7 separate regions of the Homo sapiens genome follow, and all the other regions are linked to region 1. Evidence: promoter capture Hi-C in 16 types of primary human blood cells and fetal thymus (Javierre and others, 2016). All regions are on one chromosome and are shown on one strand. Each heading gives the region's core, a stretch centred on a gene start or on the middle of the fragment in contact. The rest is flanking DNA. Distances are from core to core; before and after follow the strand shown.

Region 1 (3,065 bases), core at 454-2,953:
GCTACGCCATTTAGGTTTGTGCAAGTACATTCTATGACGTTCACACAAGGATGAAATAGCCTAACATATTTCTCAGACCATAGCACTATCGTTGAGTTATGCATGACCTTATTTACTATATGGCCGCTTACAGAAAAAGTTTGCCAATCATGACCTACTAAGACGACAAACCCTATGTCAATAATCAAAAGAATCCAAGTAAGAACCAGACTACTTCAGTGCTTTCTAAATGTGCCTGACCCTGGAACGCATTATTTCCAATTCAGGATTGGTGTTTCCTGACACACACAAGTCAACTCAAAAGGAAGGTTCGCTTTATTATTATGTGCTTAAAAAAATTTTCTTTACCATTTAAAAAATATTTTTAAGGTGTTTAAGAACTCCTTGGACTTATATGTGAAAAAATGTTCACTTGCTGAGTAGCAGATCACATAATATTGAAAAGATCATATGTGAAAAACATCACATAATTTTGAAAAATTATCTTGCACATAATACGTAAATATTCAGTCTTCCACCACACCATACGTACATTTATATTTATAATGATAGGCATTAATCACAGAAACTTCTATTAAGAAAAGGCACTCGCATAAGCACCTTGACTTCCTGCAGTGGTCCAGTGTCTTGTCCTTACACTGGAGGACTCACAGTTTCCCCAGCTTCTACCTTCAGTGAAACTGTATACTGCTTCTGGACCTTTATTATTTGCACGATCATGCCCGTGCTGTTGTTTACGACACATACTAGCAATGAGCCATTCAGCCTATTTATTTATTCAGGGCCCAAAATCTGAACAATAACAACTTAAAAAAACTTATTGTAACCCAAGCAAGATGAAGACTAGAATCAGAAAAGGCCTTATCAGACAAGTAATACATACTGGTTTAATTAAATACCCTGGAGTGTGGTGGCCTTATACATAAGGTCTAGCCAACATTCATTCGTTCCTATTCCAAGACCCTGCTTATCAACGGTGCAAGTATTTCTACATAATTTTCTCTTCCTTTTATGCTGTAGAGCATACCGCTTGTGGGAAATGGAGGGAAGGCCCACGGTCCCGACAATGTTTGGGCAGGGTACCTCGTCCCAGGTGGATCGCCCACCTTACTGCTGCATAGACCTGCTGTGTATCCCGGCCCCGGCCCCGGCCCCGGCCCGACGTCCTCTAGCCCCTCTTCCCAGCACTCAGGACCGCGGATTTCAGATGACCAAAGGCCACCCTGTGACAACAGCGTCGGAACCACGGCACTTCCGCCTGCGGCCGGTGAGACTACAAATCCCAGAAGCCCCGCGCAAGTCTCGTCCCACTACCACCCCCTCCCATCACGACTCCCAGAACCCTCCGCGAGACGCCAGGGCCTCGAAATAGAACAAAACCGGCCGGTGGGGGAGGGGGAAGGTGAGGGTCTCGGAGGACACAGGGGGTTAGAGAGCTCTCTGCAAATGCCGAAGACCCAAGCAGGCCTGCCGCCTACCCCTCCCCGCCCCACAACTGCTAGGCGCGGAGACCGCGGCCTGTTCCCCGCGCCTCCCGGGAAGCTGAGGAAGGTCCCGGACAGGCTTCCCCGCCGGCTCCTGCTAAGAGGTCCGCAGACCCTAGCCCGGTGTCCCCCCTCCCTCTCATAACGTTCCCCGCACACCGGCGCAAACCTCCGGCTCAGGAACCGCAGCAGCTTCGCTGTCCACGGCAGACGCAGAAACGCCGTTCACAAGCCTTTTCCCAGAAGCCCCCGGCGCGGGCTGCTTCCGGTCTGCGGGCCTGAGGAGGCGGGGAGAGGTAAAGCCCACGTTGCCATGGAGAAGCGCCCCGGGCGGGGGAGGGGCGGCCCCACGACAATGACCGCATTGAGGCTGCGCTTGGCCTCGCGCCTCTCCTCGAACAGCCCAGCGTCCTCTGGACCGTTTAAAAGAAAACATAAAGAGGACTCTACCATTAAGATAGTCCTTACAATTTCGCAAGCCCTTTCACGTGCATTATCTTGTGGATCCTCTCAGTAATCCCCTGCAAGAAGGAATGAAAGTGAGTGTTTGTGAAAGCTTACTACATTGTGCCAGGCGCTCTCGTCGTGCTTTACATGTCATTTTTTTTTCCACAAATAAATGATGTAGGAACTTTCATTATCCCCATTTCACAGCTGAGATAGTTGAGGCACAAATACAGTAAATAACCTGACAAGAGCTCACAACTCATTTGTGGGTAGCAAGATTTGAAACCAAGACGTGATTCAAATCTTTGGCTCCCACTAGTTATGTCATGGAGCTTTATTCCGACCTATTTATCTGTCAGGAAAACTAGATAAGACAGGTTAAGAGTTTTGGCAGTGATGTCACGGTGAATTTGTAGAATGCATGGTCATCTTAAAGCTGGGCATTTTATACCATAAAACAACTGCTGACGCGATCATTTAAAATTACAAATCAGACCACTTCACTCCCCTATTTAAAGCCCTCCAATTTATGTCATAATAATTTATGACATAAAAACTCCTTATAATGGCCTGTAAGTCCCCTGTGGTCTGTTGCCTGCCCGCACCCCCAGACCCTGGCGCCCCCAGTCACCTCAGCTCCTCGGCTCATTGTGGCCCAAGATCCTCAGCCTCACCACCTGCCTTTCATGGCGCATGACCCTTCATGGCACTGTTATTAATGGAAGTGATCTCATTTATTTACTTGTTTTATTTTTTGTTTTGTTTTGTCTTTAAGTCCCTTAAGGGCAGGGACCTTGTCTGTCTTGCTCACCACAGTATCCCATCCTAGATCCTGGAAGCTGACTGCCTGGTAAATAGAGAACTCAATAAATATTTGTTGAATAAATAAATGAATTGTGGGATGGTTACATTGCTGCCTTTAGCTAGGTCACATGATTGGCATCAGACACCACACAAAGGAGCCCTGTTGTTTAAGGACTGGTCAAAAGTGTAGATCCAGCCTAACATAAGCATTTCAAGATCCTCAGGCTTTGACTTTTTGCCTCATTGGAGAAAATGCCCTCTGAAAAGTGCCGTCAGGCTCCGCTGGATTCGTGCATGAGAGAGCAAGTGAGCGAGCAGCTGATGGTATAC
Region 2 (3,503 bases), core at 915-3,414, 160 kb after region 1:
ATCGGATGGTTAATGTCTTTTTTGGCTCCTGCTAGAATGTAATCTGTATGAGGGAAGGGTCAGTTATGTCTTGTTAACTTATCAGTCCCCCCAATCACAGTACCTTGCAAGTCATTGGTGCATTATAAGTATTTTTAATGATGTATTTAACGAATGAACTAACTCCCTGCAGTGATTGGTGGAAGCTACTATGTTTGAATACAGGAAGTTGATGTATATGAGTCTTGATATTTGAAATAAACAGGCTGCACAATGACTTAGAGGTGAGAGAGAAGGAGCAGTTAGGGAAACTTGCAATATTGTTACTGACATATTTTTTCCTTTAGAGAAAGGAATAAGCCTACCAGTGTTGAAATGTTCTTTCCCACACCCCATCTCCATCCCTATCCTCATCTAAAGCTAGTCTTTTCCTCATTCCTTAACTCAAGGACTCACCTCCAACAAGCCAGTCACCTAAGCAAACTCTACTGTCCCCACCTCCTCCCATTCCTCACCTCCTCAGCTCGCTTCTCTCCTTCACGGCTCCTGCCCTGGTGAATCTGTATCCCATGTCTACATCTCAGCAACAGCCTCCAGATGGACGTTTCGGCCGCCATCTTTCCCTTATCCATTCCTGACCCCAGACCATCCTTCACACTGGCTGCCAGAATGGGATTTCTAAATTACAAATATAATCATACCACTTACTTTCTTACATTCTTCAGGGCCCTTTTGCCTTCAGGGTAAAATTTTTTTTTTACCTTCAGGGTAAGAACGTTTTGGCTTGTCATACAAGGTCCTTAATGACTGGGCTCTGGGCCGGGCGCGGTGGCTCACACCTGTAATCCCAACACTTTGAGAGGCTGAGGCGGGCAGATCACAAGGTCAGGAGATAAAGGCCATCCTGTCCAACACGGTGAAACCTCGTCTCTACTAAAAATACAAAAATTAGCTGAGTATGGTGGCATGCGCCTGTAATCCCAGCTACTCAGAAGGCTGAGGCAGGAGAATCGCTTGAACCCGGGAGATTGCAGTGAGCAGAGATCGTGCCACTGCACTCCAGCCTGGCAACAGAGCAAGACTCCGCCTCAAAACGACAACAACAACAACAACAACAACAACTGGGCTGTGCCCCATTCTGTTGCTTGGTTCCCAACACTTAATTCCTTGTGTTCCAGCCAAGGACTAACTCTATTTCCTAGAATGTATATGTTTTCTTAGCTTGTCATATTTTTGTTTCTATTATTTCCTCTCCTGGGAATGCTTAGCTCCTTGCCTGATTACCATCCATTTTGCCTCAGTTCAGATGCTACTTCCAATGAAAAGCTTTCTGCCATCTGACACACCTTCCTTCCCCTTCCCTTTCCCTGTCCTCACGCTGTGCACGTGAGCACAGGGGGACCTGCTGGGCTGCTTCCTGTCATCCCTTATTGAGTTCAAACACCAACTCCCTACTTTTAAGGAGTCAGACAAGTGGATGCACCGCCATCTGGTTTCCTGTTACTAAATTCAGGCCTGATCTTGTCTGATTCCTTTCTTTCTGAAATTCTTCCCTTGGTATCTGAAACATCACCATCTTTTTGTTTTCCTCTTTCCTGGCCAGTCTTCTGTTACCAAATGGTCTCTAATGCTACTACAGGTTTTTCAAAATATATAGTCACATGCTCCTGTAGATTCACATTTTAAAAGTTTCCCAAGTGATTCTAATGATCAGCCAGGTTTGAAACCAGACTCTTGCACAGAATCCTTACATATTGAGAGTTCCTTGGTGCTTGGTCCAAGGCCCTCTGCTCTTCTCAGTTGATACTCTCCCCAGCCATTGCACCATTTCTTGCGGATTCAGTTACCACCTAAATGCAGACCACTTTCAGATTTGCATCCTTTATCTGGCTCTTTCTCCAAAGATGCATACCCAAGGCCAGGTATGGTGGCTCATGTCTGTAATCCCAACACTTTGGGAAGCCGAGGCGAGTGGATCACTTGAGGTCAGGAGTTCAAGTCCAGCCTGGCCAACATGGGTGAAACCTCGTCTCTACTAAAAAAATACAAAAATTAGCCAAGCATGGTGGGGCCTGCCTGTAGCCCCAGCTACTTGGGAGACTGAGGCACAAGAATCACTTGAACTCGGAGGGTGGAGGTTTCAGTGAGCCTGGGCGACAGAGGAAGACTCCGTCTCAAAAAAAAAAAAAAAAAAGCATACCTGGACGTAAAATTCCTTTCCCTAGTATAAACTCAGATGCTTACACGCATCTTTCACTCCGCATGGCAAAAACAGAATTCATCATCCTCTCTGCTCCTCTAAAACAGATTCCTCCTTCAGTGTTTCCTGTCTCAGCAAATGCCACGATTAGCCACCAGTTCTTCAGACCAAAACTTGGGAGTCATCCTTGACTCCTCCCCTTCCTCCACTCCACACCATAACCGTATTCCAGCCACCATCTCTCTCTGGACTTGCAAAGTGGCCTTATGCGTTCTCTTTCTGCCTCCACCTTTGGTCCGTGCAACCCAGTTCCAACATGCGATTCCAGATGATTTCTTTAAAGATACAAATGTGCATTTTTCAGATCACACCGCCTGCTTGAAACCATTCAGTGGCTTCCTGTGGTCCCTAGAATGAAGCCCATTGTCCACGAGGTGGTTCCAAAGGTCCTTAGAGACCTGCCATCTCTCCAGCTTGCCTCTGTCCCAGGTCCCTGCACTCCTGCTCAGTTTTCACTTTTGTTAGTTCCAACAACCAGCTGTGCCCCTCCTCCCTCAGGCCTTGACACACTGCTCCTCCTGCCTGGAAGCTGCTTTTCTCCCGACCCCACCCTCCTCTGGTCTCACTAAATTCCACGCACCCTTCCTATCTTGGCTGACATGCTACATTTTCAGTGTTCCCTCTCCTCTGGTCTGGTTCCACATTCCCATCAGTCTCTCTCAGTTATTTAATCCCTGTTGATTACCTTTTTTTCTTTTTTTTTGGGAGGATCTTTCTATGTAGCCCAGTACATACATTTCTAGTAGGGAAGGAAAGATATTATATTTGTCTTCTCAGCTGGACTTAAGCTTCCTATAGGCAGTTGCCAGAGTCATCAGGGATTGAGTGGCAGAGCATCAACAGATGACAGCAACAAGGAGAGTGGGAGAAATGCTGGAGGACATTGGCTTGAGAAACCTGCCCCATGATCACCGTGGTAGTGCCAGTTACTACCAGTGTTGGCACATACCAGGATCCCATATACTTGCTGCATATGTAACTCATGGGTTTCCTTGTCCATTGGTAAAGATAAATTAATACTGATGACTCAACATTCTGCTAGCTTATGTGTTGAGACAGGGCCTAAGGCTGCCCTAAGTTCCCTCCTCAGTTATTCCTGAAAACTTGCAGGGTGTGTCTCACCCCTGCCGTAGTGTGCGCCCTCTCTTGCACTTCCTCTTCAGCTTCCTTCCTGGTACTTGCAGCTCCTGTTTCCCTCACCAATGCCACACTTCCTTTGGCAAAGGCTGCTGGGGCTTTCTCTGGGATATTGATGCCCTGACTG
Region 3 (3,101 bases), core at 602-3,101, 200 kb before region 1:
AATGGTAATTTGATATATGGTATTTATATTGGCATTTTTCAACCCAGTGTCACTAGATGTCACACACATTTGTGGTGCTTTGATGTTTGCAAGTCTAACCTCTGAACATAAATTTGGTCAAATAATTGGAACAAAGGGAAACAGATACTTGATATGAAAGCCATAATGACGGTGACTTGTGTCGTGGGGGAAAACATAAGGTCATTTTCTCCCTCTACTCACAATACTAAAGGGAAAAAATGGATTCAAAGCTAGGATTTCAGGGCCCAGCAGTGTTCCTCCATCAGCATGTTAGACAACTACACAGTATGTTGTTAGTTTTGAAAGACATTCACTCAAGGAAAACACCATCTCAACTTTGCCCGCTCACCATGTCCCTTGCCCCCATGTAGCCCATTTCCCAGGTTATGCTCTTTTCTTTCTCAGGGTCCTCTTTGGTGGGCAGCCACTCCCCGAGATGTTGCCATCAGTTTTCTGCAGTCCAAAGAGGGTATGGTTAGGTACGGGTCTTCCTGCCTCATTCCTCTTCCTCTTTGTGTAGGTTTCAGCCACAAAACTGTCATTCACTCTAGGGGACCCCTACTAAAGGGTAACTTCAGGTGTGCAGCCCTGAGCTCCAAGGCTCTGCACCATGCCACACACTTGCTGTAAGGCTAGAAGTGAAGACCTTATTAATAGGAGCATAATTGCGAGGGAGAATCATGGTTCTGCAGTCTGGTGTAGACACTGGAATAACAGCACAGAAAAATCTATGACTCCCAATATCTTCTAGAATAAAGAATTTTCCCTCTTTAACACAAGGGCCCTCCTTGTCATTGACCTTAGCTAAACCATGGCAATTCATAAATAGAGGAAACATTAATGAATTAAAAGCATTCCTTATTTTTTAACTAATATTTGTACATTTTCTTAGTCTCTTTCCAAGTCTTTGCCTCTTTTTTTTCTTTATTTTTATTTTTTCCTTTGACAGATGGTATCCCTTCCTGGATCATTCATTTCACCTTGGTTTCTAACTTTAGGTTTACTTTCACTTGTTATTTGACTTAGCAGGTGCAACAAAAACAAGAAACAAATGTGCCCACCCCACTTTCCGCTTAACTGAAAAGCTTAAAATAAATTTCTGAATTATGTATCCTGAAGCTTTGAAATTTCTTTATTAATCGATGAAATATGAATTCTAAATTCTAGCATTGAAGCTTTTCACCAAAAGAAGTCTCTCCAAAATAAATCTTTTGCAGCAAAGTGATATTTATTGAGTTATGTGGAAAAGATGGCTTGTATTTTTCAGATTATTACAACACACTGTGCAGAATTAGACAGATGTTCCGTGGTGTTTGGTTTCCCTTTCTTCTCTCTCCTGCTCACTCTGCATTATAGCAGCAGCTTATTTCTCTAAGGCTGGACAGCCTGGCTCTCGGCAGTGACGTCCTCCCACACCTGGTCACAAGTAGTAGTGGCTGTGCTATACCCAGCATCATGCTTAACAGCGTGTTGCCCTTCTGAGCCTGTTGTACTCACTGATCTCTTTAAAAACAAAAAATAGCTCTTGTAAAAGGTCACAATAACTCTATGCACCTGATACTGCAGTGGTTCCTAGGCCATTCTTCATCTGCTCTGGACATCTCAGTCATACCCAATGCTCAGTGGATCATGACCAAACTCCTGTCATGTGGATGCACGTGAGTGGGTAGCAGGGAGTCAGGATCCTGCCTTCTCCAGCAACCCCTTACTGCTGTATAACTTGCATAAGCCTCCCTGGTGACTCTTGCAGGAACCACTCCATTGCCCTCCAGCTCCCCAGCCTTCTCAGTTATAAACATGCTGGCCAGATCTCTTAGCCTGCAAAGAGAACTTTCCCCAGTCACCATAGACCATTCTCCTTCCTGAAGGCTTGGGGCAGACCATTCGTTTATTTAGAGAAGAGCTATACATTCTTCTTTCTGGTCCCATCTTAAACGTCTTCTGTTGTGCTGCACCCCAGATGGTGTCTCAGATGCTTTGGGGAATCTTTAACAGCTGAATTTGAGTCAGTCCTCTTAGGCTGCACCTCCAGCCTCTGCAGATCCCCCCTCATTTCCCATGGATGGTGGGACCCCATTATTCTCTCATCTCGGCATTCAGGGAACAGTTTCCTTAGCGGCCCCTGGTCACATGTCATCGGGCTGGGCAGGAAGCGTCCCTGATTGCGTGCTCCACTTCTCCCTCTCAGGAAGCCCAGTTTCATCCTTAGTACCCCCCCTCGTGCCCGCTGTCGGCTGGTTATAGCACTTCCACTGCTACTGTCAGATAGGAAGTGATCGAAGCAGGGGGCAAAGAGAAAGCCCATATTTGTTCTAAGCAGAAAAGCAGGAAAAAAAAAAAAAAAAAAGAAAGAAAAACACCTGTTGACCTGAGAGAAGTAAATTCCAGAAGGGAACCAAGAACTCTTCCCTTCCCTGGTGAGTATTTCCATTATTCCGTTAAGGTTTAATATGCATTCAGATTACTTTTACTAAATAGGACACCATAAAGCTTTTGTTATATATTAAATGTAAACTGAAAGGAATGTAAACATATGTATTGTTAATTATAAATATAGATAAGTAATGACATAATAGATGAAAAAGTCTTATTCAGATGTATCACATTCATTTTACATTACCCACCTATTGTCGCATGGTAGAATAGTTTTTTGTCTCTGAATATGTGAATAACTTGACTTGCATTGATCTTTTTACATATTTAATAAAAAAAAAAGTATATGTTAAAATCTGCCTGGAGTTACAGATTCTTAAATTTTTATGCTGAAGCTTCCCTTTTCAGTCAGCATGTGAATAGGAATAGATTTGTGTGGATTTACACATCTACCCACATTTTATTATGATTTCCCCGGGGCGGGGGTTGTCTTTGTTTTTATTGATGGCCAATGTTGTTAACAAGAGTTACAGACTCGTATTTGATATCAAATGTAGCAGCTATAATACCTTTTAAAAACTTTACCAAAAAAAAAAAAAAAAAGACATAAAGAGAAAACATTCCCTTGGGAAACATTCCACCTGCAAGCAAACAGAATCCTAGCTCCTGCAGGTCCAGCATACTCCATCTGGACAAGACAGTGCTGG
Region 4 (3,378 bases), core at 381-2,880, 240 kb after region 1:
TTTAAGTTCTGGGTACATGGTGAATAAGGGAGACACAATGTCCTTGCCCTATTGGAATTGACATTTTACATGATCCTTTGAGGATGTTTCCATGGTACTCCGAGTCCTGCTATTCCAAGTGTGGATGGTGTACCAGCAGCATCCCTGTCACCTCAGACTCAAGTAATGCAGAATGTGAAGCCCCGCTGCACATCAACTGAATCAGTATCTGCTTTACCAGGATTTCAAGTTATTTGTGTGCACTTTGAAACCTGAGAAGCCTTTGTTCAGCGTGCTGGTGATAACTGCGTTTAATGACTGCTCTGCTGGTTTGTTTGGTGCCTCTTAAGCAGCAGACTGCAAAACTCTTGGGAGCACTCACCATTTATGCAAATACTTGTTAAATGCCTGGCTTTCTCAATAGAGTTTAAGCTTTATGAGAGCAGAGATTGTGGCTTCCTTTTCCAGCCATGTATCACTGAAGACTTTACAGTGCCTGGTAAGCAATAAGCACTTGGTATAAATGCTTGTTGGATAAACGAATGAGTGTGCTAGGATACTTAAGCGTGGTTGTTAGCTGGGTGTGGTGGCATGCGTCTGTAGTCCTAGCTATTCCAGAGTGACAGCGCGAGACCCTGTCTCAAAAAACTGAAAACCCAACAACAACAAAACTGATTGTTAATCCCAAGCAGTTACAGGCAAGGTAATTCTCATGACATCAGGTGAGAGAGCATGGGACCAGAGTCAAAATGAAGATAGATCTGTTTGTAACTTTCAGTGGGACGCTCCAGCTACTCTGACTGGAGTTTTGCTCCTGGCTCACTTGCATGCCCTATCCCTCTTTTAACTAATATAATAATAATTTTGAATCTGAATCACACATTAGTGCTTCATATAGTTTTTAAAAAATTTTGTATTTTTTTAGGTAGCTAAATTCCAGACATTATTTGGATTTCACCAGTTTTTCCGTTAATATCTTCTTTCTGTTCCAGAATCCAGTCCAGTGTACTACATTGTATTTTGACATCATGTTTCTTTAATATTTGGTTTGTGATAGTTTCTGTCTTGTCTGGTTTTCCATAACTTTGGTAGTTTTGAGGAATACTGTCCTGGCTTTCTTTGATGGACAGCTTTCCATACTCATTCTCATGAAAGGTCACAATCAGGTTGACGCTGTTTCTGCTTTTACTTATTTATTTATGTAATACATCTGTCATGCTTATGTAACATACAACTTTGGTACTTTTTTTTCAGTAACAGATTTCTTGGATACAGTTCCTAATTGGTTGAGATGCAGAAGAGTGTTATACCATTGCAGTTATATACCAAGTTTTATTTTTTGATGGGTTAAGAGCTGGGCTGAGGTAGAGGAGGAAGGAAAGAGGAGAGATCAGTTAAAAGAGGCAGTTAGGCAAAGAGGGACCAAGGCAAAGGGAGTGACAGATAATGGAGGAAGAGGAGTGCGGCAACTTCGTAGAAGAGAGTTAGGAGTGACTACTTACTGTTTGTTCATTTATTCAATTAATATTTATTGACTCAGCAGTCCCAGTCTCTCTGGCACCAGGGACCAGTTTTGTGGAAGACAGTTTTTCCGTGGACCAGGTTGGGGGCCAGGGGAATGGTTTCGGGATGAAACCGTTACACCTCAGATCATCAGGCATTAGATTCTCATAAGTCTTGTGCAACCTAGATCCCTCATATGTAAAATTCACAGTAGTGTTTGCCCTATGAGAATTTAATGCCGCTGGTGATCTGACCGGAAGGAGGTGGAGCTCAGGCAGTAATGCTCGCTTGCCCACTGCTCACCTCCTGCTGTGTGGCCAGGTTTCTAACAGGCCACAGACTGGTACTGGTTCATGGCTTGGGGGTTGGGGACCCCTGTATGGAGCGATTAATGTGTGCCACACCCAGTGCTGTAGTCTCAAGATAACTGGGGGTGGATAGCATTAAATAAACATGCAAATAAGTACATAAATACAATTTGTGATTATTGCTACACATTAGCAGTAAAGGATGCTGGAGAGATTGTAGGTGGGGGAACTTCAGGTTGGCTGGGTTGGGGAGGACGGCTTCTCTGGGTATGTAACATTTAAACTCCTGCACCTGACTTTTGGGGACCCTTCAGAGTTACCCTCCACATTTCTTATCCCATTTTTATGTTATTTCACAACCCCCGACACATGCCTCTTTCTTCATAGGCACTTTGCTTATTTCTGGCTCTGTACCTTTTTATGTGATTTCTTCTCCTTCCCAAGATGTCCCCTTCTCCACCTCCACTTGTGGAAGTGCTACCTGTTTTTCATAGATTTGCTCAAGGTCTTTCTCCTTGATGAAGTTATTCACTGTTGATTTATGCCTCTTGAGTGTATGGTGTTTAAGGGTAGGGATAACAGTTTACATTTATATCTGTGTGTCCTCATTTAGTCCTCAGTTACCTGGTTGCTTCCAATGGTATCATTTTGTAAAGCTATAGTACAATTTCCAGACCTGTAATAGTCACATTGAAACAGTCAAGATAGAGAAAATTTTCATGGCCACAAGATTTCCTTATGTTTTTTTGTAGCCACACCTACTACCCTTCTACCTCCACCCCCTCCTTAAACTCTGACAATTACTAATTTGTTCATTTCTGTAATTTTGCCATTTTAAGAATGTTTTATAAATGGGATAAGTGTCTTTTGGAATTGGCTTTATTCACTCAGCATAATTCTCTGGAGATTGATCCAGGTTGTTGCATGTATCAGTAATTACTCCCTTTTCATTGCTAAGTAATATTCCATAGTATGAATGTACTTTTACGGATCTTTTAACCATTTACCTGTTGAACATCTGGTTGTTTCTAGTTTTTGGCTATTGTGAATAAAGCTGCTGTAAGCTTTTGTGTATAGGTTTTTGTGTGAACAGAGTCTTTATTTCTCTGGGATATATGCCCAGGAGTACACTTACTGGGTTGTGTGGCAGTTGCATGTTTAGTTTTTTAAAAAACTGGTGAGCTGTTTTGTAAAATGTTCTAGCATGGCTGGAACATCCCAAAGTGCCGGGATTACAGGCATGAGGCACCACGCCTGGCCTGTCACCATTTAGCCATTCTGATAGGTGTATAGGGATGTCTCATTGTGGTTTTAACGTGCATTTCCTTAAAGGCTAATGATGTTGAACACTTCTCATGTGCTTATTTGTCAACTGTATATTTTCTTCAGGGAACTATCTTTTGTTCATTTTCTAATGGGATTGTTTGTCCTTTTTACTATTAACTTTTGAGACTTGTTTATTCTTTATATATTCTAAATACTGGTCCTTTGTTGGGTATGTTGTTTGTCTGTAGCTTGTCTTTTCATCCCCTTAATAAGGTCTTTTGCAGAGCAAAAGTTTTAAATTTGTTGAAGTCCAGTTTCTCAG
Region 5 (3,200 bases), core at 323-2,822, 160 kb before region 1:
AATCAACTAGTTGATTCTAGTTCAAGGAGGAAGAGATTTGCTATCTTTCTTTGCCTTCCTTATAAAAAAAAATCAAGATTTCAAATATTTTATAAACAACTTTTAGCACATTCAATAAATTTGTTTATTATGTATTCTGATTATCTACTGCTGCATCAAAGCCCACTCTAAAACTTGGCGTCTTAAATGCAGTTTGGGCAGAACTCAGCAGGAACAGCTCATCTCTGCTTCACTCAGAGCAATTTAGACTGGGAGCTGGCACTATCTGAAGGTTCACTGATTCAGTTCTGATGGATGAAACTGGCTGTCAGCTGAGACCTCAGCTGGGGCTAGACCCACAACACCAAGCCTCTCCATGTGGCCTGGGCATCCTTACAACATGGTGACTCATCCCAAGAGAGAGTCAGTCAGAAGCTGTGTCACCTCTTTTAACCTAGTCTTTTAAGTCAAAGAATTTGCAGACAGTTTTTTAAACCACCATACTGTGCTTATCAAAAATGCAGATTCCTCACCATTCCTTTCAAATACATGGCCGTATCAGGAGCGTTAATAAAAGGAGCACTGCACCAAGACTCTGGGAAACTAGATTCAAATTCTGATACAGATTCAAGACTTTCAACATTTATGGATGTTAATTTTCCATGTTCAGAATAGGGACTAGAAAACTGGTGTGTTACAGATGAAGTTGAAGTGGGACAGAAGAACAGAGAGACGCAAGGAGACAGATTGCACAGTTCAAGTATTTAGCAGAGAAAGGTAGTGAAGGCAACTGGCAAAACGCTGTATCTAAACTCCAGTAAGATGCTTAAAACCACTGATGGGTCAATCCCATGAAAGCAGAGTGGAGAAGAGTGGTAGGCCTGTCAGCAGCCACCAGCAGTGACATCTTGCAGCAGATAGCAGATGGCTTTGAGGCCACAATTGGGTTTTGGTACCCCTGTCCCTGGGCAGAACTGTGCTTCCTCTGGACCCTGAACTTTCTGCTATTATTGAATCAAATCATACAGAACTATCATTGCATGCTTATATGACCAACTCTCCTGCTAAACAAATATGCTGCATATAGGCAGGGAATGTATTTTATTCATTTTTGAATCTCAGCACCTGTCACGTTACCTTCATTGCCTGGGACTCAGCAGGTGCTCATGAACAAATGGAACTGAACTATCAAGGTCAGAATGGAAAACCAGTCTCAAAGGAGTAAGAGTTTAGGGCAGGTTGTCAGGCCAGGATTTAGAACTCAAGGTAATAAAGGCCCAGTTATTAGATGTTGTGTTGGTCTAAATTCTATAACCAAGACAGACCATCAGTGACCTGATTCAGTGCTGAGGTCCTGAGTATGAGTGGCAACAAGGCCAATCTGCCTGAACTCTTAAATAAGGGCTCCTTAATTTCCCCCAAAATGAATCCTAAAGCCTGGGGTATAAGCCCTCAGGAAGGGAACAAGTAGTAGGGATAGGAAGGTCTGTAGCTATCCCATGTGAAAGAGAGCAGCAGGCAGCCTGTGAGGCTCTTTCTGCTCTTTGCTTCTAAGATCATTCCGCTTGGAAACGGGGCTGCCTAAGACCCAGTACACTCTGGGTAACATGCCTGGGCATCTCCCACCGTGCCATGAGGCTTCTCCGGGCCAGACTTCTCTGCCGTGAGCCCATCTATCTGACTGCTTCTAGACACCCACAGGCATCCAATAGAGCTCATCGTCATCCCCCAAACCAGTGTGCTCCTCTGCATTCCCTGACACTGACTCCGAGCAACAGAATCGTCCCCAACCAGCTGGCCAAGCAGAAGCCAGGCCTTGATCATGACTTCTTGCCTCACTCATTCCCAACTTGCAGTCCTGTTCTTTATCATCACTCAACATGGTCTCCTCTTCCAAGACACCCTTCCCTGACCCTGAAAGAGTTGCTCTGCCCTCTCTCCTGTCTTCCCATGGCATACCTTGATCATAACCTGCCATACCTTGATCATACCCTGCCATACTTCCGACTTCCCCACTGGACCGGAAGTATCTTCCGATCCTGGACCATGTGTTACTACACTGACCAAATGAAATGTTTGCTCAACAAATATTTGTTGGCCAATGAATGAACAAGCAAATTAATCCACAGTTCTTGTAAACCATGCCACCACCTAGCACTTCCTAACCCCCGACCCTTCTTCCTTTTTCTCCATAGCACTTACTGCCTTCTAACATATCATAAATTACCTTCTTTCTTTTGTGATCTCTTTGTTCTCAACACCACTCCTTGAATGTAAGCTCCATGACAAAAGGGATTTTTTTGTTGTTTTACTTCTGTATCCCAAGGGCATGAATTATGCCTGGCACTTAGTAGGTACTTAATAAATATGAATGAATGCTGAGCCTGTGCTGCTCAGCAAGGTTCAGATGGCCATGGCATTGTCTCAGCAGCTATTCCCCTAGGTTCTCTAGCAGTCATGCCTCCCAGTGTGCTACCCTTTCCCCATCTGAGACTTACTTTCCTCGTTGGCCTGAACAACAGCTTATTTTAGGGCAGCTGCTACTGCTGCAGAATCAGCTACCAAAGAAAACACTTCTCATCTTAGCATCTGGAAAACTCACTTTGTGTTTCAACTCTTATGTGCTCATGTGCCAGCAAAAGTACCTTTTTCATTTTTTACAGTCAAATATTCAAGTGACTAGAAAATATTAGTTTCAAAATGCATTTATGAGGAACTAGTTGGTTCCTGAAAATTCAAATGTTTGTCAAATTTTAAGATTTTTTTTAGAATTTGGTTTCAGGGAATATTAAATTTTGATGTATGTTCCTAAGTCAGTGCTAGGAAAATCACCTCTATTTTTATAATAACAAAGTCAAGGTTAGGGGCTGCCTACAGTCAGGAAAATTATGTTCTCTATCTTTTTAAAAAATTCATATGAGGTCTAAAATGCCACTAAAATGATGTTTTCAGGATTCCTTACATAAGAAAGGAAGAAACTACTGTTTTTCAGCACTTACCATATGCAGATACTTTAGATATGGCATACTGTTTAATTCTCATGACTCTGGAATATAGGTATGACTACACCCATTTCAGAGTTGAAGAAATTCTAAATCAGAGCAGTTCAGTAATTAACGTGATATGTTAATCCTCAACAAAAAGAAAGAGATCTGAAATTAATATGGCAAAATAAGATTTGACACAGATAAAGGGTGGGTAAGCAGTTGTTCTCGTATATA
Region 6 (3,555 bases), core at 581-3,080, 180 kb before region 1:
ATACCCAAACTAAAGTGTGATGTGCAAGAGAGATACTCTCTCTGTTCTCCAGAGACAGCCACCCAGAGATAGCCCCTATTCTACTGCTCCTTATTAGGCCCCCAGCACAACCATTAGCACTTCTAGCTCTAAATTCCTGCCTCCCCTTCCCACAGTTCATCCGCCTGCCATATATTCAACTTTCTAATGTATGTTGAGTCCCCAGAAGAATAAAGACTTTCATGGCTAACTGCTAGGTGGTAAGCTTTCTGCGCAACACTAGGCACTGGATCTACAGTGCTTTTTGGATCTACACATGGTCTCTTTTGACAGAAGTGGATTGGAGATCATCAGTCACCTACTATTGTTTTAGAAGTCAGAAGTACCTTGCCTCAGGTCACTACACATTTCTTCTGAAGGGGTTAGATCTTCTCTTTTAACACATTATGTTGTGATTGCTGGTGCTGAAGACTGTGTTCACCCTAGGGCATGATTTTAGGGGTGGGACCATTTTGTCCACGAATTTAATGTCCCCAGCACCTAGCAGTTTTGAGCACATAACAGAACTTGGTTTACCAAATAAAAATAAAAGAGAGAAGGGAAAAGGTGCAGTGGTGAAGTTTAACATCAGAGTTATTTCCTGTATATTCATTTTTCTCTCCATTAACACAGAGAACAAAAATTTAATTTTACATCAGAGAAAATTTACAATCCAGGTGGTCAGAACAAGAGAGATGAAAATGCAGAATTGCAGAGAGCCATGAAGCGTAACTTGACTCTCATGAGCATGGAAGTTTAACATCATGACTTTTAAAAATCTGTCATTTAACATATGATGTGTTTTCAAGCTTCAGAGACTGAATTCCATCAATGAATATTATATTCTGACTGCATGCTTGTGTTTGATTTTGAACTTTCCTTATATAAACCTCAAAACCAAAATTGAAAAGCCGTGTACAAGAAAAATAAAATGTCAAGTTAGAAAAAGATTTAGCAACACTGTACATCAATGATTTCAAATGTGATTCTGAGACCCTTGGGGAGTCCCCAAGAGCTTATTAGGAAATCTTCCAAGTCAAAATTATTTTCCCAATGAGCCTGAGATGTTATTTGCCTTTTTCATTCTTATTCTTTCACCAGTGTACAGTGGATCTTTTCCAAGGTTACGTGAGGTGTGATATCACAGCAAATAGTATGCAGAAGCAGATATCACAGTCCAACTGTCTAACAGTCCAACTGGCAGAAAAGTAGTGCTTCTAGCAGTCAAGAGCAGCCACGTTGAGATTGGTGAAGTCAATGAACCCAGTGCTGGATGGCAGGTACTAAAGGTGGAGATGTCCTGCCGATATCAAGATACAGAACTGCAGTGGAGGTGAGTGGTCAGAACCAGTGATGTGGATTTAAAGGTTAGTCCTCTGTAATGACAAGTAGCACCCCAGCAGTGAATAATCCTACGGAGTAATGAATGCAAAACATGGAGCTGTCCAAGGCAGAAGCTGTGGGAACTGGCACATTTTGGAGCAGGAGATAAATAAGAACCTAGATGTTGGGAAAGACTCACTGAGCGACCAGCTATGCAGGGCCCTGAAAAAAGTACCTTGGCATGACATAGCTGATAGACAGAAGGAAGGACAAAAGAGAGAAAGATGGAAACCAGAGGGGACAGCTTCAAGGAAGATTAGTCAACAATATCAAAGTCACATGAAAGACGCGAATGGTAAATTCCGATAAGCTAATGGATTTGACAAGAATTGGGTCATTGTCAGCTTCAAAAGAGAATTTTTAGTAAAGTAATGAGGTCAAAACAGCACATGAAAACTGCATGGGGAAAAGTCTAAAAGCAGAGCCCAGCACGGTGGCTCAACTCTGTAATCCTAGCACTTTGGGAGGCCGAGGCAGGAGGATTGCTTGAGCCCAGGAGATCCAGGCCACAGTGAGCTATGATGGCATCACTGCACTCCAGCCTGGACAACAGCATGAGATCTTGTCTGTAAGTTTTAAAACTTTTTAAAAATAAAACCATCTAAAAGCAAAAGGAAAAAAATAAAAGGGATACAAAACCCAGGAAAGAAAGATTTTTGGTTTAAACCAAGACTGTATACGGACATGAAGGCAATCCCCAAGGACCTCAGAGCCACTGAAGGTGCTGAAGGCAAAGGGAGGGTACCAAGGTATCTTGTGGGTACCAGGACACAGACTCTTCTCTTAAAAACACCCTGCTCATAAGACTACTTCCTGGTCCATCAAAACAGAATCCTAAGGAATCCTATTATTCACCAGTCAGCAAATATTAGGATGATGATGTAATGGTTAAAAGATCTACTCTAGTCAGATATCATTTAAAAGGCAACATTCAGATTTGAATAGGTCTTTTCTTGACATGAAGTACAAATAATAAAAATCCAAGTATCAGAATTTCATGTAGGAAAATAAATTGCTATGACAACCACAACTCAGTCTCCACAGAAAATATAAATAGGAACCAGAATGAGAAAATTATAGAGAATTTTTTCTGATTTGGAAACAATTTCAACTATGATTCTTTAATGTTTTGCTCATTTGGCTCTAATATGAGAACAAGAAAATATTCTTCTACTTCAATAGCTTCTTTGTATTACAAATTAAAATGACCAGACCAGCACGTATTGGAATGAAACTAGAAACCAACACCATCTAGTGACTTACTCCACCAAGATACCCCTGTTCCCTTCACTGCTAACTTCTAATATTTAAAGGACCACACCTAAAATTAAAGAATAACTTGCATCAAATGCATTATATTTATATTACAGGCCAAATAGTAAAAGCAGATAACAGGGGATATGAAATCACCGCATCTTCAACTGCCAGGTTATAAAGCTTCAAGTCAGTTGTAAAGGACCAAAGTTTCCTACCTTTTCTCCAGCATTTGCCTTTAACCATGACTATTCTGGACTCCTGCTATGAGGTTTGCTATTATTTGGATGACGAGAGAAGGCAGAGTAGGGCAGAGTCCAATATTCCCACTTCTCTCAGGATAACCAAGGCACTCCCTGGAGCCCACTCTCCCGAAGCCAGAACAACGAGACCTGCAAGCCCAGCTGGGGTCTCCAGGGATTCGATCTTTTGCACAGTGCTTTTGACTTAAGACATTTTCACTGCAAAGTGAGTGAGTGGGTTGCATATAGCTCTGTAATTAGCCAGGTTGTCCAATGCTGCCCAGGGCCCTTTAGAGTTCTGCCTCCGACCTGCCCTTGTATATGCCCTCTCTCAGCCCAGTGTCCTCAGATACAGTGCCCTCGTTTCAAGCCCAGTTTTTCTCTCCCTCCACTGGCATGCTTCTCATCTGGTCTGGCACCTTACTCAAGCTTTGGCCTCGATTCTGTCATTTAATCATCCATGGCTCTGTGCTGTGCAGCTCACGGGCCAAGCCAGCCCTGCTCTTCCCCTAAATGCATCTCCAGCTCCAGGAATCTGTTTGGAACTTCAAGCCACTTCCTTGTTGGGTGGAGTGGTTTGGACATGGAACAATTCTAACTACAGGCATTCTCCAACAGTACCGAGCTTCCTCCCATGGCGCCCAAGTTCAACACCTTC
Region 7 (3,289 bases), core at 460-2,959, 240 kb before region 1:
CTCCCCCACAGCAGGTATTGTCACAATGAGATTGCGGGAGTTGCTTTCATCTTTGATAATGGCTCAGACCCTTCTGTTATTTACTGTGTGTTTCTGACTGATTCTTCTCAACAGTCAATATTTTAATGCCTTCGGATGATTTCTACTGTTGTCTGTTTCACCACATTTATCTTCCTGTGACCCATTTGTCATTAGTCTAACCATCTTCATTTAAACTATTAAAAAGGCAGAGCTATTTGCATTGTATCACTGAAGCTGGCAGTGAAAATAATGCTCCCAGGATAGATTTCTTTTTCCTTTTAGTTTTTCGAGAAATTTCAAGTAGCCTGTTTAGATTTTGACTGAAGTATTTTTACTGCTTAATTGCTGGCAGTACAGACCAGCATATGAACTGAACTCTGTTGTTAAATATGGATCATCGTCTCTAACCCTTCAAAGGAAATTCGTGAACTGTACATCCTACCTCCTCTGTAGGCAGTGGCAATTTTTATGCAGTAACATTCAGCAATACCCTATTTATCCAGCTTTGTCCAAAAGTGAAGTCGTTGAGGAAAAATATCTGGAACATTAAAACTTTTAAAACTTCTGTGGATAAAAAAAGAAAAAACCACTTTCTAAAATATATTATAAACATCCTTGCCATAAACAGCAGACCTTACCAAGCAGAATGTGTTCTTATAAAATTGGGTCATTATTAGAAACACAGTTGGGTACTGCACAATTAAGCATGAAATCATCCAAAATCATGTTTCCATCTCAATTGTGGAACCCAGTGTTCAAACTTGTTAAATCAGTAACCTGAATTTTGTAAATAAAACAAATTTCTTATTTGTGCCCAAACTACAATCTGAATGAAGTAGAAATGGTTAACAGGACCACATAGGTGGTAAGAGCTTTGAAATCACAGTTTTGCTTACTGTTAAACAGCATTTTTATCATCTTATTTCTGGATTTATGGCTGTATTCCAGGCAGACTGAAACCATTGGAAAACTGGCATTACTTTTTGAAATTTTTTTAATATTTAAAAATAAATATTTTTAAGGATAACATGAATACTCATACTCACTAGTATGAATTAGATGAATTCTTCATCTGCCTTAAAATAGTACTCATGTAGATGAAGAGGAATGAACAACTCTGGGAGAGTTGTTAGGAGGCAAAATAGACTGGATGTTGGTAATGGCTGAATGCTGGGATAAAAGAGAAGGAGATGTTAAACATGACTTCTTGTACAACTGGAAGGATTTGGGGTTTTGTTCAAGAAGTGCTGAAAGAGAACCAGATTTGGGAAGAAATCTTGAGTTTGTTTTGAACATACTAAGTTTGAGATTCTTTTGTGACATTTAAGAGAAGATCTACATAGGCAATTTTTGTGTTGGGGGTGGTGCACATGTGTGTCTGGAGCTCAAAGGAGTTATAGGCTAAAGATAAACATTTGTGATTCTTCCACATATTGATGTAATGGAAGCTGGAAGCAAATACTGAATGATAAAGGGTAGAGTGTCTTGAGAAACTTGGACATTTACTGGTTGAGTAGAAGAGGAAGGGCTTGCATAGGAAGCAGAGAAGGTGCCAGAAAGAATGAAGGAAACTAGGAAGTGATGTGTCAGGGAAGCAGAAGGTAGGGAGCATAATGGTCAACAATGTCTACATCTGCTGAGAAGTCAAGTTAAATGAGGCCTGAAAGAGTTCATTAGATTTCTCAACTTGAATGATTTCTCCGTTCAGTAGAATGGTAGAGCCAGGAATGGCTTGAGGAAAAAGTTGGAGAAAGGAAATTGAGACAGTGGAAAGATCCAACTTTGGAGCCATAATGGGTGAGCCTATATAGAATAAAGAAAACTAAGCACAGATCTTTGGAAATACATACATTTAAGGGGGAGGAGGAAGAAGAGGAAGCTGCAAAAAAGATGAACATCAGGAAGAAAACCAGAAGAGCTCAGCATCAGAGAACAAAAACCGTAGGAAATTTGTAGAAAGAGGGGTCACCAACAGTGCCAAATATTAATTGTGGCGATATCAAATAGGATGAAGCCTGAAAAATAGGCCAAAGTCTGACTCCTAGGAGGTGATTAATAGTCCCTCAGAGAATTGGTCCATTAAAATACTGAGGGCATAGGCCTAGATTGCAGCAATTTAACAAGGGCTTGTGGAAGTGGAGGCAGTAAGAGTAGATTCAACCTTTAACAAATGTGTCAGAAAAAAATGGAGGAAAATAAAAACATTTGGTTTGTGTAGGGAAAAGAGTGATAGTAGCTTCAGGAAATAAGATTGGAAGGAAGATGTTATTTTTTTTCAACTGTTCTTGTTTGCTTTTAGGATAAGGCAATGTAAGCAGGTTTGTAAGATGGGAGACATGTCTGTGGAGAAGGAATCATTGAAAATAGAAAAAGAGGGGAAATTGGAGTATGACGCTAAAGCTGAAAGGAAAAGGTGAGATGTCAAGGGCATAGATAAAGTGTTAGAAAGGAAAAGAGAGGATATTTATTTTCTTGGAGCCAAAGCGATAGGAGAGGCTGGGTAAAAATTAAGCCACAAAGAGTTTGGGAAACAAACATTGATGGCAGTTTAGATAGGCCTTCAACTTTTGTCAGCAGTTTTCATCAGTCTAGGAGCTGGGGTGGAGAAAAGGGGGATGTTGTGCCCTCTCCAAAGTCTGGGATTCAGGAGGTATGTCGGGTGGGAGGACAAAAAGCTAAGAAAATCAAGGGTGTCTGATATTTCTCATCTTAATGTCATTTTCTAAAGCTGTGAATGATGGATAGCTTGGACTCGAAACTCAACTGCCATTTTTTTCAAGTTTTCTGTAGTGAGATTGGACAGACCTCAGAATATTTTCTTCCACGATCATAACCTGTCCTTAATTTTTTTCTCATTGGTACCAATATTCCTCCACACCCAAATAGCACTGTTACTATGCTACCTTGGCCTCGTTTTCTAGGAATTCCCTCATCTGTCTTTCACAAAAGCTGCAGATAAACGTGTGCCATTTTGATAGAATGTCCATGAACCTGAAAGAGAAATATATATTTTCTAGAGCTTAACCTCTTGGGTGACAATGCTCAGGAAACACATTAAAGTCAACAGATAATAAATTTTATTTTTAATGTTCTGGAAGGCAGTAATTTCCTGAGACCATGTTCCTGATACCTTGACCATGTTTACGTTATTGGTCTTAATCAGGGAGAAATGATATTTTCAGAAGTCAAACTGCCATTCCCTTTCTAATAAAATATGCTCTGATTTTTGGGCATTGTAGGGTAGTAAAACTATACTGGGGGTATATCA

Evidence for each region. Contacts are between HindIII fragments. The CHiCAGO score rates a contact against its expected background, and 5 or more counts as called.
Region 2: a fragment that was not itself captured here is called in contact with the fragment with the promoter of ZNF24 in region 1 in 2 of 17 cell types (fetal thymus and non-activated CD4 T cells); the score reaches 7.3 in fetal thymus.
Region 3: a fragment that was not itself captured here is called in contact with the fragment with the promoter of ZNF24 in region 1 in 1 of 17 cell types (naive B cells); the score reaches 5.0 in naive B cells.
Region 4: a fragment that was not itself captured here is called in contact with the fragment with the promoter of ZNF24 in region 1 in 3 of 17 cell types (fetal thymus, monocytes and naive CD8 T cells); the score reaches 6.5 in fetal thymus.
Region 5: a contact is called between a fragment that was not itself captured here and the fragment with the promoter of ZNF24 in region 1, in 2 of 17 cell types (naive B cells and total B cells). The highest score is 6.6, in naive B cells.
Region 6: a contact is called between a fragment that was not itself captured here and the fragment with the promoter of ZNF24 in region 1, in 2 of 17 cell types (total B cells and naive B cells). The highest score is 7.3, in total B cells.
Region 7: a contact is called between a fragment that was not itself captured here and the fragment with the promoter of ZNF24 in region 1, in 1 of 17 cell types (total B cells). The highest score is 5.1, in total B cells.

What each region holds. Positions count from the first base shown.
Region 1 is chr18:35,342,717-35,345,781 of GRCh38, forward strand. It overlaps ZNF24 (zinc finger protein 24), which reads right to left and starts at 1,704. Exons shown (of 4, transcript NM_006965.4): 1 at 1,644-1,704. It overlaps LOC124904283 (a long non-coding RNA gene), which reads left to right and starts at 1,338. Exons shown (of 2, transcript XR_007066337.1): 1 at 1,338-2,023. RefSeq lists an enhancer at 1,022-1,081 and a silencer at 1,762-1,931. The HindIII fragment of the contact is 2,541 bases long and covers 1-2,038 here.
Region 2 is chr18:35,498,949-35,502,451 of GRCh38, forward strand. No RefSeq gene overlaps it. Among named protein-coding and RNA genes, the nearest start is that of INO80C, 2.7 kb to the left of the region's middle. The HindIII fragment of the contact is 1,722 bases long and covers 1,304-3,025 here.
Region 3 is chr18:35,140,722-35,143,822 of GRCh38, forward strand. It overlaps MAPRE2 (microtubule associated protein RP/EB family member 2), which reads left to right. Exons shown (of 7, transcript NM_014268.4): 7 at 1-2,749. Among named protein-coding and RNA genes, the nearest start is that of ZNF397, 99 kb to the right of the region's middle. The HindIII fragment of the contact is 1,315 bases long and covers 1,195-2,509 here.
Region 4 is chr18:35,583,074-35,586,451 of GRCh38, forward strand. The region is part of intron 1 of GALNT1 (polypeptide N-acetylgalactosaminyltransferase 1); the gene reads left to right. Among named protein-coding and RNA genes, the nearest start is that of GALNT1, 3.0 kb to the left of the region's middle. The HindIII fragment of the contact is 2,443 bases long and covers 410-2,852 here.
Region 5 is chr18:35,178,106-35,181,305 of GRCh38, forward strand. No RefSeq gene overlaps it. Among named protein-coding and RNA genes, the nearest start is that of ZNF397, 61 kb to the right of the region's middle. The HindIII fragment of the contact is 4,063 bases long and covers 1-3,200 here.
Region 6 is chr18:35,160,931-35,164,485 of GRCh38, forward strand. No RefSeq gene overlaps it. Among named protein-coding and RNA genes, the nearest start is that of ZNF397, 78 kb to the right of the region's middle. The HindIII fragment of the contact is 2,011 bases long and covers 826-2,836 here.
Region 7 is chr18:35,102,146-35,105,434 of GRCh38, forward strand. MAPRE2 (microtubule associated protein RP/EB family member 2) reads left to right here. Exons shown (of 7, transcript NM_014268.4): 4 at 1-14. Among named protein-coding and RNA genes, the nearest start is that of MAPRE2, 62 kb to the left of the region's middle. The HindIII fragment of the contact is 5,583 bases long and covers 1-3,289 here.